Regions from separate parts of the Homo sapiens genome. Here regions 1 and 2 are each linked to region 3. The links are contacts of gene promoters, found by promoter capture Hi-C in blood cells and fetal thymus (Javierre and others, 2016). All regions are on one chromosome and are shown on one strand. Each heading gives the region's core, a stretch centred on a gene start or on the middle of the fragment in contact. The rest is flanking DNA. Distances are from core to core; before and after follow the strand shown. Region 1 has its middle 19 kb from the start of SCGB1D1. Region 2 holds the start of SCGB1D1 (secretoglobin family 1D member 1). Region 3 holds the start of MYRF (myelin regulatory factor).

What was found. The method cuts DNA at HindIII sites, captures the fragments that hold promoters and counts their contacts. A CHiCAGO score of 5 or more calls a contact.
Region 1: a fragment that was not itself captured here is called in contact with the fragment with the promoter of MYRF in region 3 in 1 of 17 cell types (neutrophils); the score reaches 6.0 in neutrophils.
Region 2: the fragment with the promoter of SCGB1D1 here is called in contact with the fragment with the promoter of MYRF in region 3 in 4 of 17 cell types (naive B cells, neutrophils, total CD8 T cells and 1 more); the score reaches 7.6 in naive B cells.

Annotation. Positions count from the first base shown.
Region 1 is chr11:62,168,921-62,173,001 of GRCh38, forward strand. It overlaps the pseudogene EEF1DP8. Among named protein-coding and RNA genes, the nearest start is that of SCGB1D1, 19 kb to the right of the region's middle. The HindIII fragment of the contact is 5,233 bases long and covers 1-3,942 here.
Region 2 is chr11:62,188,203-62,192,391 of GRCh38, forward strand. It overlaps SCGB1D1 (secretoglobin family 1D member 1), which reads left to right and starts at 2,014. Exons shown (of 3, transcript NM_006552.2): 1 at 2,014-2,137; 2 at 3,854-4,041. The coding sequence starts at 2,083. RefSeq lists an enhancer at 4,068-4,189. The HindIII fragment of the contact is 8,999 bases long and covers 1-3,252 here.
Region 3 is chr11:61,750,705-61,754,938 of GRCh38, forward strand. It overlaps MYRF (myelin regulatory factor), which reads left to right and starts at 1,932. Exons shown (of 27, transcript NM_001127392.3): 1 at 1,932-2,086. The coding sequence starts at 2,041. It overlaps MYRF-AS1 (MYRF antisense RNA 1), which reads right to left. Exons shown (of 4, transcript NR_026882.1): 4 at 3,325-3,741. RefSeq lists silencers at 1,722-1,861, 1,982-2,081. The HindIII fragment of the contact is 15,547 bases long and covers 1-4,234 here.

The DNA.
Region 1 (4,081 bases), core at 76-2,575, 420 kb after region 3:
GGATCATGTGGTAACTCTATTTTTACTCTATTTCTGGCCTTTCTATTTTATTCCATTGGTCTACATGGCTGTCTTTATGCCAGTACCACATTGTTTTGATTACTGTCACTTTGTAGCAAGTTCTCCAGCTTTGTTCCGTCTTTTCAAGATTGCTTTCACTATTTGGGGTTCCTTGATATTCCATATGGATTTTATAATTGTTTTTTCTATTTCTGGAAAAACCATTTTTGGGATTTTGATAGGGATTGCATTGAATCTTTGGGTAGTATTGACATCTTAACAACATTAAGTCTTCTGTTCTCTTGCCTCAGGCGTCCCACGTCCACCGATTCCTCCTCCCTCGTTGCTGAGTCCTTGGCTGGCATCAGAAAAATGGCTACAAACTTCTCAGTATATGAGAAGATCTGGTTTGACAAGTTCAAATATGACATTGCAGAAAGGAGATTGTACGAGCAAATGAACGGGCCTGTGGCCAGCACCTCCCGCCAGAAGAATGGCGCCAGCGTGATCCTCCATGACATTGCGAGAGCCAGAGAGAACATCCAGAAATCCCTGGCCAGAAGCTCAGGCCCCAGGGTCTCCAGCGGCCCCAACGGAGAACACAGCGAGCTTGTTGTCCTGATCGCCAGTCTGGAAGTGGAGAACCAGAGGCTGAGCAGCGTGGTGCAGGAGCTGCAGCAGGCCATGTCCAGGCTGGAGGCCCAGCTGAACGTGCTGGAGAAGAGCTCTGCTGGCCACCGGGCCACAGTCCCTCAGACCCAGCACGTGTCTCCCATGTGCCAAGTGGAGCCCTGGCCAAGAAGCCAACCACACCAGCAGAGGATGACAAGGGCAATGACATTGACCTTTTTGGCAGCAACAATGAGGAGGAGGACGAGGAGGCAGCACAGCTGCGGGAGGAATGGCTGCCATTTCCCCCAGTAATTAGAAAAGCCTTATTGTGAGGTTTTTGATACCTTTTTATAGTTTTATGTTGTCATCTTTGTTTTAAGGAATATGTGAAGTTGTTTCAAAATTGGGAACAAGAATTGTCACATTCTTTTGTTTTTTCTTCATATTTTCTCCATATTTTTCTTGTTTTCCTCTTTTGCCCTCCAGTCCTGGGAGGAAAGTAAGTGTCATGGGTGAGGACTTTCCACTTCCTGGACCATTGGAGTCTCTGGGACCATCCACAGTCCCTAAGCCTGGGAAAGTGCTCTGTTCTTTAGCATATTAAAAATGGCCCTAGCCTGTCCTTAAATGACTCTAGAGGGGTCATTCAAGTGCATGTTTGTATGTGGAAAGATGATTAATATGTCACATATGGCTTAAAGGAGCCAGCAGGATCTTGAGACACAGTAAAAATATCCCCCCGCCACCCTTCAGAGGTGGGGAATTTTGATTCCTCCCTGGTAAATCTCTGTCAAATTACTAATTATTGATCTCTGATAATTACCAATTATTGATCCCTAACTCATGACTGTCTCCTTTACAGCTGGTGAGCAAGCCACTGATTCTAGACTTTCATGACTTTCTGATGACTTCCTGATGACTTCCTACTGACCAAATGATAAACCGCTCAGAATTTCCTGTCTGCACTGTGTGGGATAGTGTCCCCTGAGCCACCTTCTTTCTCAAATTGCTGTTATATTGTCTTAATCCACAAGGAAGGTCTTGTGTGAACATATGTATACATCCAGAGTGTTCTGGTAGAATTATAGCTCCCCTTGCACTAAGGGGTGCCCGGGGCACTTACATGATGTGTACTTGTTGTTAACCACCGCTCCCCAGGGGCTGGATCTTATCCCCTGTGCATAATCAGAAGCAGTTTCCCTAGTCTTGGTTCACCTGGTTGCAGTTCTCACCCTCTTCCTAGGAGTCCACTCTGCTGAGTTCCCATCAGGTCTTCTTCTGCACTGACTCTATGCCAGGTAGCTGGAGGTTAGACTGTTCCTTCAGCCTAGGTACTTTCTTTCTTCACCTCTTCATCATGTCCTCCAAAAAGCCTCCTATGTATAGGTTGGTTTACGTGGCCATTTTTTTTTTCTTTCTTTCTTTCTTTTGTTTTGTTTTGTTTTTTTTGTTTGTTTGTTTTTTGAGACGGGGTCTGGCTCTATCACCCAGGCTGGAGTGCAGTGGTGCGATCTCGTCTCACTGCAACCTCTGCCTCCCAGGCTCAAGCGATTCTCCTGCCTCAGCCTCCAGAGTAGCTGGGATTATAGGCGCGCGCCATCAGGCCTGGCTAATTTTTGTATTTTTAGTAGAGACAGGGTTTCACCATGTTGGTCAGGCTGGTCTCGAACTCCTGACCTCGGTGATCCACCCGCCTCGGCCTCCCAAAGTGCTGGGATGACAGGCGTGAGCCACAGCGCCCGGCCCGTTTTATTCTTTTAATTACCAAAGGCTGGCCTGTAGTAGGAGATGTCTGATGAGTTTTTCTTAAATTGAACGCCAACAATAAGGTTTGAGCCTCAAGGTGGCGCCATTTCATGTAGAGTCTGGAATCTCTGAACACTTGAAATAGACCATCCGTCACTAGCAGGAGCCCTTGCGTTCCGTTCCTGGATGCCGTTCTCAAAGTGAACACAATGAAATACAAGTTTCACTCGTGTTTGCATAAGGTCAAAACAACTGACAGGGTCGTTTCTTCTTGAGAGGACTGTGCGTTATCCTAGCAGGTGTATATACTATTTATCTCGTCAGATTTCTTACCAAGGAGACAGAAGCTGAGAAGAAATGAGATTAGGGGTTGTCTATCAAGGACAGAGGGAAAGAAGGGGGTAGCTGCGACTGTGTTTGTGGTGTGTGGGATGAAAAGGAAGATTTGAAGGATAAAACTAGAAGGGAAGTGAAGATGACTCCAAAGTGCCTTATTTGGAGCGGGATGAGACTGACTGGATGGTTCATGTTAAAGGGATCGTCTCAGCACAGCTGAGGGTTTTTCACACATACTATTATTTAATTCTACTGACTTTCACGTAAAGAAAGTGTAGTCTTTATTTACTGAGACTTAAAAAGATTAAATGGCTTTTCCAAGCTCACACAGTCCATATAACCCAGAGATGGGAAAATATATCTGGACCCCAAATCCTTAATTTTACTTGTCTGCCTGCCCGCCTCTTCCCTGTTGAACCTGGGGAGGCATCAGGGCATCCTGTTAGTGGTGTCCCACAGATAGACAAATTTTACCCTGGATTACGAAAAGCTGGATTAGCTTTCTTACTTAAACAATACTGGGGCCGGGCGTGGTGGCTCATGTCTGTAATCCCAGCACTTTGGGAGGCTGAGGCAGGCAGATCATGAGGTCAGGAGATCGAGACCATCCTGGCCAGCATGGTGAAACCCCGTCTCTTCTAAAATACAAAAAGTAAATTAGCTGGGCACGATGGCGCCTGCCTGTAGTCCCAGCTACTCGGGAGACTGAGGCAGGGGAATCGGTTGAACCTGGGAGGCGGAGATTGCAGTGAGCCAAAATCACGCCACTGCACTGCAGCCTGGCAACAGAGCAAGACTCTGTCTGAAAACAAAACAAAACAAGAAATAATACTGGAACTTCTTTCCCTGCTGTTGCTCCAATTCCCTTCCCTGGATTATTTTCCTCTTTGTCACTACCACACATCTAGAAAGATTAGCATTTCTATTACAGAAGCAAATGTCAAAAGGAGATTTAGAGGGAGTTACAGTTGCTTAAAAAAAAAAAAACCCCTGCCCTTTGCCATCACAAGCCCATGATCGTCACAGTTATCTGTCAGTCAAGCACCTGACCGTAATGGAAGTCAACAAATAAAACGCATCACTTGAGACCGGATAAAGAACACAGGATGAGCATGAGTTTAATCCTTGTCCATCCTCTTTAGAAATCTGAAAAAAATAACAACTTAAAATGACAACAAAAGAACAAAGTGGCAAACTCTACAGTATAGTGGAAACAAGCAAGTGACAATATTTGATGAGAAATATTTAAGCTTTTCTGATGGATGGAGAGCAGATAGGATGAAATCTACAGAGAAATAAGATGAGAGGAAACTGAAGTTCAAACATGTGCTGGAGAAAAAACCTTCAGATAGAGGAGCTTTTGGAAAGAAAGAGGAAATTAGGTTTA
Region 2 (4,189 bases), core at 764-3,263, 440 kb after region 3:
TGAAATGTATGACAGGTGGGACAAGGTAATAGTAGTCAACATTTATTGAGCGTTTACTACATGTCAGACCTTGTTAATTTTTTTTTCTTTTTTGAGATGGAGTTTTGCTCTTGTTGCCCAGGCTGGAGTGCAGTGGTGCCATCTCAGCTCACCACAACTCTGCCTCCCTTGTTCAAGAGATTCTCCTGCCTCAGTCTCCTGAGTAGCTGGGACTATAGGCACATGCCACCACACCCAGCTAATTTTTTGTATTTTTAGTAGAGACGGGGTTTCACCATGTTGGCCAGACTGGTCTCAACCTCCTGACCTCAGGTGATCCACCCGCCTCGGCCTCCCAAAGTGCTGGGATTATAAGTGTGAGCCACTGCGCCTGGCCAGACCTGGTAAATTTTACACACACACACACACACACACACTCATTTGAACATCTATCAACCCAATGATGTAGGCACCATTTTTAACCTACTTTTACAAACGAGAAAACTGTGTTTACATAAACTAATTTTCAGAGGGTTCAATAGCCCATAGACATGGATCTGAACCCTCCTAGCCATGGGCTTTGCCACTGGACCTTCCACTCCTTAGGGTTGGAGGCAGAGGTGGCATCAGGGGCTTCCCCACCATTTTGGGTGATGGAAGTGAGAGGCATTGTCGCCCTCAGCTGGGACTCAGCCAGACCTGCCAAGGTGTCTCTGATGACACAGACCATAAGGTCCGCTTCCTTCATAAAGGTCTTTCTGGGTGGTTCTCAGTACTGCTGCCCATCAGACCCACCAGAGCAGTTTAAACAGAAGAGGACCTCGCCCTAGAACTACTGAATCAAAATCCCCAGAAAGGGAAGCAGCCTGCGGGGAGTCAGTATAGTTTAAGAGCCCCAAGTGATTTGATTGCAGAGCAGAGAATGGAAAGCTCTGGCCTGGGCTGTGACTGTTCTCAAATGTGTGTTCACTTAAGAGCCAAATTTCTGGTGATTTCCTACTCACCAAATGATGGCACTGCAGTGGAAGGGCAGAAGGGTGTCTATTGCTTTTGCTGGGGATGGCCTTCGCTTTCCATCAACAATGAGATGACCCAGGCAGCAGAGCTGGGTTAGAAGTGGAAAACTTGAGCCCAGAGGTTAGAGGGAAGTGACCACCCACCCTGTTCATCCATCTCTTCCTTTCCATTATCGTCCCTGCCTAGAAGCGAAGACCAGTATTTCTGATGCCTGTTTGCCTCCAGACACCCCAGCAGCTCCTTGGGTAAAAAAAGTTGGGCAATTTAATCATCCCATCAGCCCTATGAGGAGATATGGGTGGCTAGAGGTCACTGGAGGCTTGCTTTTAGTAGACAGAAAATTTGAACCTGTGCTATGTTGACAACTCCACCCATAAATAAAGACACAGATCTTGGAGTGAGACAGAGTAGAGGACAGGGGGAGTGGTTGTTTTCCCCAAGGAAATCCTCCAAAGGTGGGGTGTATGCAGCTATGTTTTAGGTACCTATGTGGTGAAGATGGTGGGGATGGAAGGGGCTGAGTGGGAGGATAGGTCTGGTTCAGACTTGATCTATGTGCAGCTGAAACACGTGTGGCTGATTGTCAGACATGCAGTGGAGGTCAAAGTGGGGTCTCTTCTGTGCCTGCTCTCCTATAACCAAACCACAGCCCCTAGCTTCCTGCACCCCCGGTTTCTGTCCTCCTGAAATGAGAACTCACATTTGCCCTTGCACTGACATAAAGAACAGAGAGATAATCCTCAAAAGCCCAAAAGCAAACTGAGGTTCCAGGGAACATTGCCAGAGGCACCTGGACACTCACCTGGAGCACAGAGCAGAGTTTCTGCAGGGCTGCCCTCCCGTGCTCCGCCCCACTCAGGATGCAGGGAGGTGTGGGGATGTGACACTGATGGATGGCAGCAGCCCTGGCTAGGAAGGGAGGGCTGGAAGCCAGGCCTCATCACCTGCCAGATGCCCATGTGGGCAGGACCAGCCAGGCTCCCTAGGTACAAATAGCCCTGGGCTCCACGGCTCCACAGGCTCCCGGGGCTGAGTCTAAATCACTCATCATTGGTTAAAGCCGAGCTCACAGCAGAATAAGCCACCATGAGGCTGTCGGTGTGTCTCCTGCTGCTCACGCTGGCCCTTTGCTGCTACCGGGGTGAGTACATCAGTCATGAGTCCAGCACCAGCCCTTGGGACACACCCTTCTCTGAGCACGAGGTCACCTATTAAGGTTAAGGTTGGGGTCTGGAACAAACCAAAATTCCAAACCTTATCCTGTGCTTGTTGAAGGAACTGCTCATAAAGCTCGGGCCTCATTTCATCAAATCCCCAGTACCTAGGAAGTTTTGCAGAAAATCAATGCAGGCGAACGTTAGGAATTCTGCCTGAGCTTCACTCTTGGATGGGATCTGTGTCAGATGATGTAATGTGAGGTCTGGGGTGACTCTGGGCTCAGCCACTTCTCAGCCCTTTCACCGTGGGCAAGATGCTCACCCTCCCCGCGCCTCCTCCTATCTCTGGTGCTTAGAGCTTCTTCCGGGAGTGGCAATGGGAATGGAGTGGGATTATTGTGCCAAGGGTCTAGCTGTGGATGTGAAGCCAATCACTGTACTGTCAGACATTCTCGTCCCCAGACCTTTAGGTGCCAATTGAGCTCACAGCTTCTTACATTGTAAATTCAGACTCATAAAATGTTACATCTCGAAGGATCCTTGGAGAACTCTCAGTCCAAGAAGAGATGGTGCTTTCTGATTCTCTCAATAAGAAGCCTGCAAATGAATTCTTAGAATAAGCAGCACTCAATATATCTTCTAGGGGTCCTACCGTAATGGTGGTAGAAATACTACAATGGTTAGCCTCAGAACTTCTATTTTTCTAAAATTAATTCTGGCTGATTTTTCCCCAGTTCATTTGGGTACTTTCCTTTCCCCTGTCAGGACCGATCCAGACTCTGATTTTTCTCTTTCCTCTTCTTTTCTGAACCTCTCCCTGTTTCCCTGTGACACCCCGATCCTACCCTCTCCAAATTCTCCCCACAGTTTGAAGTCGGGTAGTCAGGGGTCATGTTGAGCATGGTGGGGCGCTTTCTGGATGCATGGTGTTTGCAAAAGACTTAGGTGAATGGAGATTCCAGACCAAGCAAAATGATTACTCCAGGTCTTTCCAAAATTCCCAGTGGGAGCAGGAATGAGCCTCAGTTCCCTCCTCTCATCCTCTCCAAATATTCTAGATGCTGCTGCAGAATATGGGCCAAGTACAATTTCCTGTATAAGCTTCTAATGTGTGTTAAAACTGATTCACATTATTTTATTTTGTTTTAATTTGTTTACCTTTTAGCTCTGTCTGTATTGAATCACATAAGCCTAAATTCTACAACTTGTTCTCAAAACATCACCTTCAACATTTCAATAATTTTAACTTCTTCTGTTCCAGATTTACTCATTTCTCTAATTTCTGATAGGATTCTGACTCTACCATTCCACTTCAAAATTTGATTACTCAAAGCCTCCTCTTCACCAATGTCCAAGACTAATAAAGTGTCACTTAACTGGCATAGAAAAGTGATTATTTTCAAATCTAGAAAAGAGAACGTTGGCCATCCATCCAGAGAAGCTTTGGAAAGTAATGAGTGTGCTTTAAAAAAAAAACAAAGACTGAATGAGTGATCAGGAAGTTGGTTCTCCAGTTCTAGCTCTACCCTTTGCTGTGTGACCTCAAGGAAGTCACAACCTCCTGGGTCTGACATTGTCATTGGCATAGTTATTGAATAGAAGCCTAAAACCCTGGGGTTCCTGTCTGGTCTGACATCAGGGAGGCATGGGAGAAACACTGATTTCCTTACACAAATTATATTTTTATTCTTTTGCTCCAGCAAATGCAGTGGTCTGCCAAGCTCTTGGTTCTGAAATCACAGGCTTCTTATTAGCTGGAAAACCTGTGTTCAAGTTCCAACTTGCCAAATTTAAGGCACCTCTGGAAGCTGTTGCAGCCAAGATGGAAGTGAAGAAATGCGTGGATACGATGGCCTATGAGAAAAGAGTGCTAATTACAAAAACATTGGTAATTTCTGTCTCTTTCATGTGTCCAGGCTTCTGGTCAGCGGCACAGTGTGAAGTGAGGTCAGCTTGCTTGCTGCTCTGTGAGGGACACAGGTGGTGGGGCACCTGCCTTACTGGTCACCGCTTGAGAAGGTCACCTGGGACCACAG
Region 3 (4,234 bases), core at 682-3,181:
CTCAAGCAATCCTCCTGCCTCAACCTCCCAAAGTGCTGGGATTACAGGTGTGAGCCACTGGAGCCTGACTGGATTCGGTAGTTTGAAGATGCCACCATACATTCATTCAACACATTTATTGAGCACCTACTGTGTGCCAGGTCATGTTCTTGGTGTTGAAGCTATAGCAGTGACCGATACAGAAAAATATCTTGCCCTCGTAGGGCTTCCATTCTAGAGCAAGAAGGATAATAACAGAAACTAAATAGGAATCTTTTACATGGTGAGCAAGAAAGGCCTAGGTAGGGAGAACTGCTTTAGGTAGGCTGGTTGGGGACATGACATTTGAGCTGAGACCAACTGCTACAAAGAAGTAGCCATGTGGAGACAAGCATTGTAAACAGATGGAATAGCATGTGCCAAGGCCCTGTGGCAGGTGTAGGCCTTGCATGTTTGAGCAATGGCAAGGAGGTCTTGGTGGCTGTTATTCAGTGAGCAATGGAGAGAGGGGAAGAGCTGAGGCCAGTGGTAGAGGCGGGGCCTGAGAAACCAGAGCAAGACATTCAGATATTGTTTTGAGTGCAAAGGGAAACTTAGTTTTGCAAAGGAATGACATGATCGGATGTATGTTTCAGAAAGGGTGATTTGGGAGAACTGAAGGGGATATCAGTGAGACGAGAGGCTGTGCAAGTTGGGCAGGACAGAGATGTGGAGGCAGTCAGTCATAAGGGTGAAGGCAGGGGCACAAGGACAACCGCTTTATCCTGGACTTATATCGAGTTAGAACCTCCAGGTTTCATTATACCAGACAGGGCCACGGCAAAGGAGAGTTCGGATTCCCGGGGCAGCCAGGATTTGGCTCTGAACTTTAATGACCTTGAAACTCTTAGGCAGGGCGGGGAGCGGTGGCTCATGCCTGTAATCCCAGCAGTTTGGGAGGCCAACGTGGGCTGATCACCTAAGGTCAGGAGTTCGAGACCAGCCTGGCCAACATGAGGAAACCCCGTCTCTACTAAAAATACAAGTTAGCCCAGCGTGGTGGCGCCTGTAATCCCAGTTACTGGGGAGGCTGAGGCAGGAGAATCGCTTGAACCGAGGAGGCAGATGTTGCAGTGAGCTGAGATCGCGCCATTGCACTCCAGCCTGGGCGACAGAGCCGAACTCCATCTCAAAAAAAAAAGGAGCTTTTAGACCTGCATTGTCCAATACCACAGCCACACGTAACTGTTTAATTACAATTAAACAAAATGAAAAAATCAGTTCCTCAGTCTCAATAGGCACATTTCCAGTGCTCACTTGTGGCCAGTGACTACCATACTGAACAACACAGGGAACATTTCCATCATCACAGCCACAGGACAGGGCTTCCTGGCAGTCCTTAATGCATTGAGCCTCAGTTTCCCCATCTGTAAAATGCAGGTAACAACAGCATCTCCTTGATAAGGTGCCTGTGAGGAGTACATGAGATAATGCCTGTGTGGCCTGGCACATAACACACGTTCCCTAAATGCAGGTTGTTATTGTTGCTGAGCGGGGTGTGTGGGTGGCTAACGAGAGGGATGGGGGCTGTCTCTGAGGTTTGGATTCGGAATCGTGACATCTTGTCCCGTGCAAGACGAAGGCGAGGACGGCGAGGGCACACCCTTCCAGTCCCGACCCCACAGAGGCCAAGCGGCCCTTCGCCCCCACCCCGACCCGGGAAGGCCCCGCGCCCCTCAAGCCTGGGACGGTCTCGCGTCCCCCGACCCGGGACGGCCCCGCGCCCCGCAAGCCTAGGACTGCCCAGCGCTGAGCGCCGCCTGCAGGAGTCGGGAGCGTGGTGCCCGCGGCCGGGCTGGGCGCGGCGCGGGCCGGCAGGGGGCGCTGGGCGCGGCGGGCGGGGCGCGTGGGGCGGGCAGGGGCCGGGCCAGGGACGCGCGGGGGGCAAGCGCGGCGGCGGACCGGGCGGGACCGTAGCCGGAGCCCAGCCGGGACTGTCGCGCGGGCCGCGCCGGCGATGCCGCGCCCCCGGGCCGGGCTGTAGCGGGGCCGCGGCTGGAGTGTGCGCCGGGCAGGCGGGACATGGAGGTGGTGGACGAGACGGAGGCGCTGCAGCGCTTCTTCGAAGGTGAGAGACCGCGGGCTGGCGGCGGCGACCCTCTGGCGCTGGGAACCCCCGGCTGATCTCCCCGGGAACTGGGGCTCCTCGCTGTGTTTCCGCCTCCTCTGGCTGGGACCCTCCTTCAGGCTGGCACCAGCCCGCCAAGACAGGCTCCCGGGGCTGGGAGTCCCCCAGCGGTTACCACCCACCGCCGCTGAAGTTGGGCTCCCCCTCCCCGCTCCTCAACTCGCAGCTTCCTTGGGACTGTGTCCCCTTCCAGGTCCGGACTCCTTTGAGCCTTCCAGGACCCGGAACTTTCCCTAAATTGTGACACTCTCGCCCCCAGCAAACTTCCCGAGTCTGGGGACCCTCTACTTTGCTTCCCCAGAACCCCAAGCGGGATACAACCCCATTCAAGGCCCAGACCCCCGGTGTGCCTTCTAGGACCTTCCGTACCTCTTGAGGCTGGACCCCAGCCTGCTTCCCAGAATCTGTGACCCCCGCCTAGAGACCAAGACCCCCTGTGTGCCCTTCTGGTTGGCGCCATCCCCCATGACTTCTAGGAGCTGGGACCTCCCCACTGTGCTTCCATGAGGGTAGGACCACTTTCGAGCCTGGATCCCCTTGGAGACTGCCACCTGCTTTCCACAATGCTGCCTAGTGACTGCTCTCCTGTTTGGGGCTGGGACCCCCCTCCCTAGCATGCTCTCCTGGGGCTGGAACCTTCTTGAAGCTGACATCCCTGCCACCGGTCACCTCTGCTCTCTGAGACCCTTCTAGTGCTGTGAACTGCATCCCACCAGCCCTCTGAGGCTCCTCAGCACTATGTCCCCCCAACCCTGGAGCTGTGCCTCTCTGACCTCGCCCCCTCAAAGAGTGACCTCACCCCCACTTGACCGAAAGGAGCCCTCTGGGGTGGAATTGACATACACCCCATAATATCTTCTTCTGCCCCCACCCCTACATTGGTTTTGGAGGTCTGCTCCTCCATCTAACCAACTCCCTGTCTTTTCCTGGACGACCCCTGCCCCTCCTGCAGGGCCACCACTCCTCCTGGTGCTGGGTTCTGGAGGGATGGGACCGCAGTGGGAGGGGGAGGGGAAGTTCTGGCTGACTGCCTCCCAGCCCACTCCGCTTCTCAGAACCTCCCTGGAACATCTAGCCAGACCCTCTGGCCCCCTTTTGTGCCCCTGTCTACCAATGCAGCGAGCCCAGCCCCTGCCCCGAGCTCCCTCTAGTCCCTAAGGCCACATCCTGCTCCTTGGTGCATTGAGAACCTTCCCTTCATGTGTGAACCTATCAGGGCTACAGGGCAGGGAACCAAGGCCCAAGTTTCAAGCCCCAGATTCCTGTGGAGTCCTGTGGAGGAGAGAAGCAGGTCTTCCGGTGCCTCAGTTTCTCTCCCTCTGTGACTTGGGAGGCAGGAACCCTTGTTCACACCTGCTGGCTGAGCAGCCCAGGCAGGGGCACCCCTAAGCCTCAGTCATCCCACTCCAGGATTCTGGACACCCCACAGACCCAGAACCCAAGAGTTCAGGCTTGGACTAGATTGAATGGTTGACTCTGCATCAGGTGGGCCATCTGAGGGTCTTAGGCAGCCCTGCATCTGTCCCGGGGCTCTGGCTCTCCCCAGACACTGTTGATCCATAGGAGCTCTCGAGGGGCCTGACGCGGTTTGAGACCTTCAGGGAAGAGGGGACCAGACATTCGTGCTTGCTTGGGTTACTGTCTGGAGTGCCTTGAGCCTGCTAGGTACCCAGAGGACCCGCAGGCCAGGCTCCCTTGACCTCCACACTGCCTGCCCCAGGACGCTGGGCCCTGACAGAGAGCAGAGGGGTGGGCCTGGCTGGCCTGGACTCCCTGGCTCCCTCCTGACCATGGGTTGGGGGGTGGGGGCTGACGCCACGGCTTAGCCATGCAGCGGCCTGGCGGGGGGAGGCTGCGCTACTCCCTCCAGAGAGATAAGAGGAGACTCAAGAATGTCTGTGGGGAGCAGGGGAGGGGTGTGAGGCTGCCCGTCTAGGAGGGCTGGGCTGGAAACAGCTCCCAGCCCCTGCGATGGGGGAAGGTGTGGGTGGCCCCTGAGGCCTAGGGTCTCCAGGCCACTTGGGAGGGGAAGGCCCATGTGGGGGACCCACTGTAGGTGTGAGAGAAGGCCTGGGAGTGGCAGGGCCT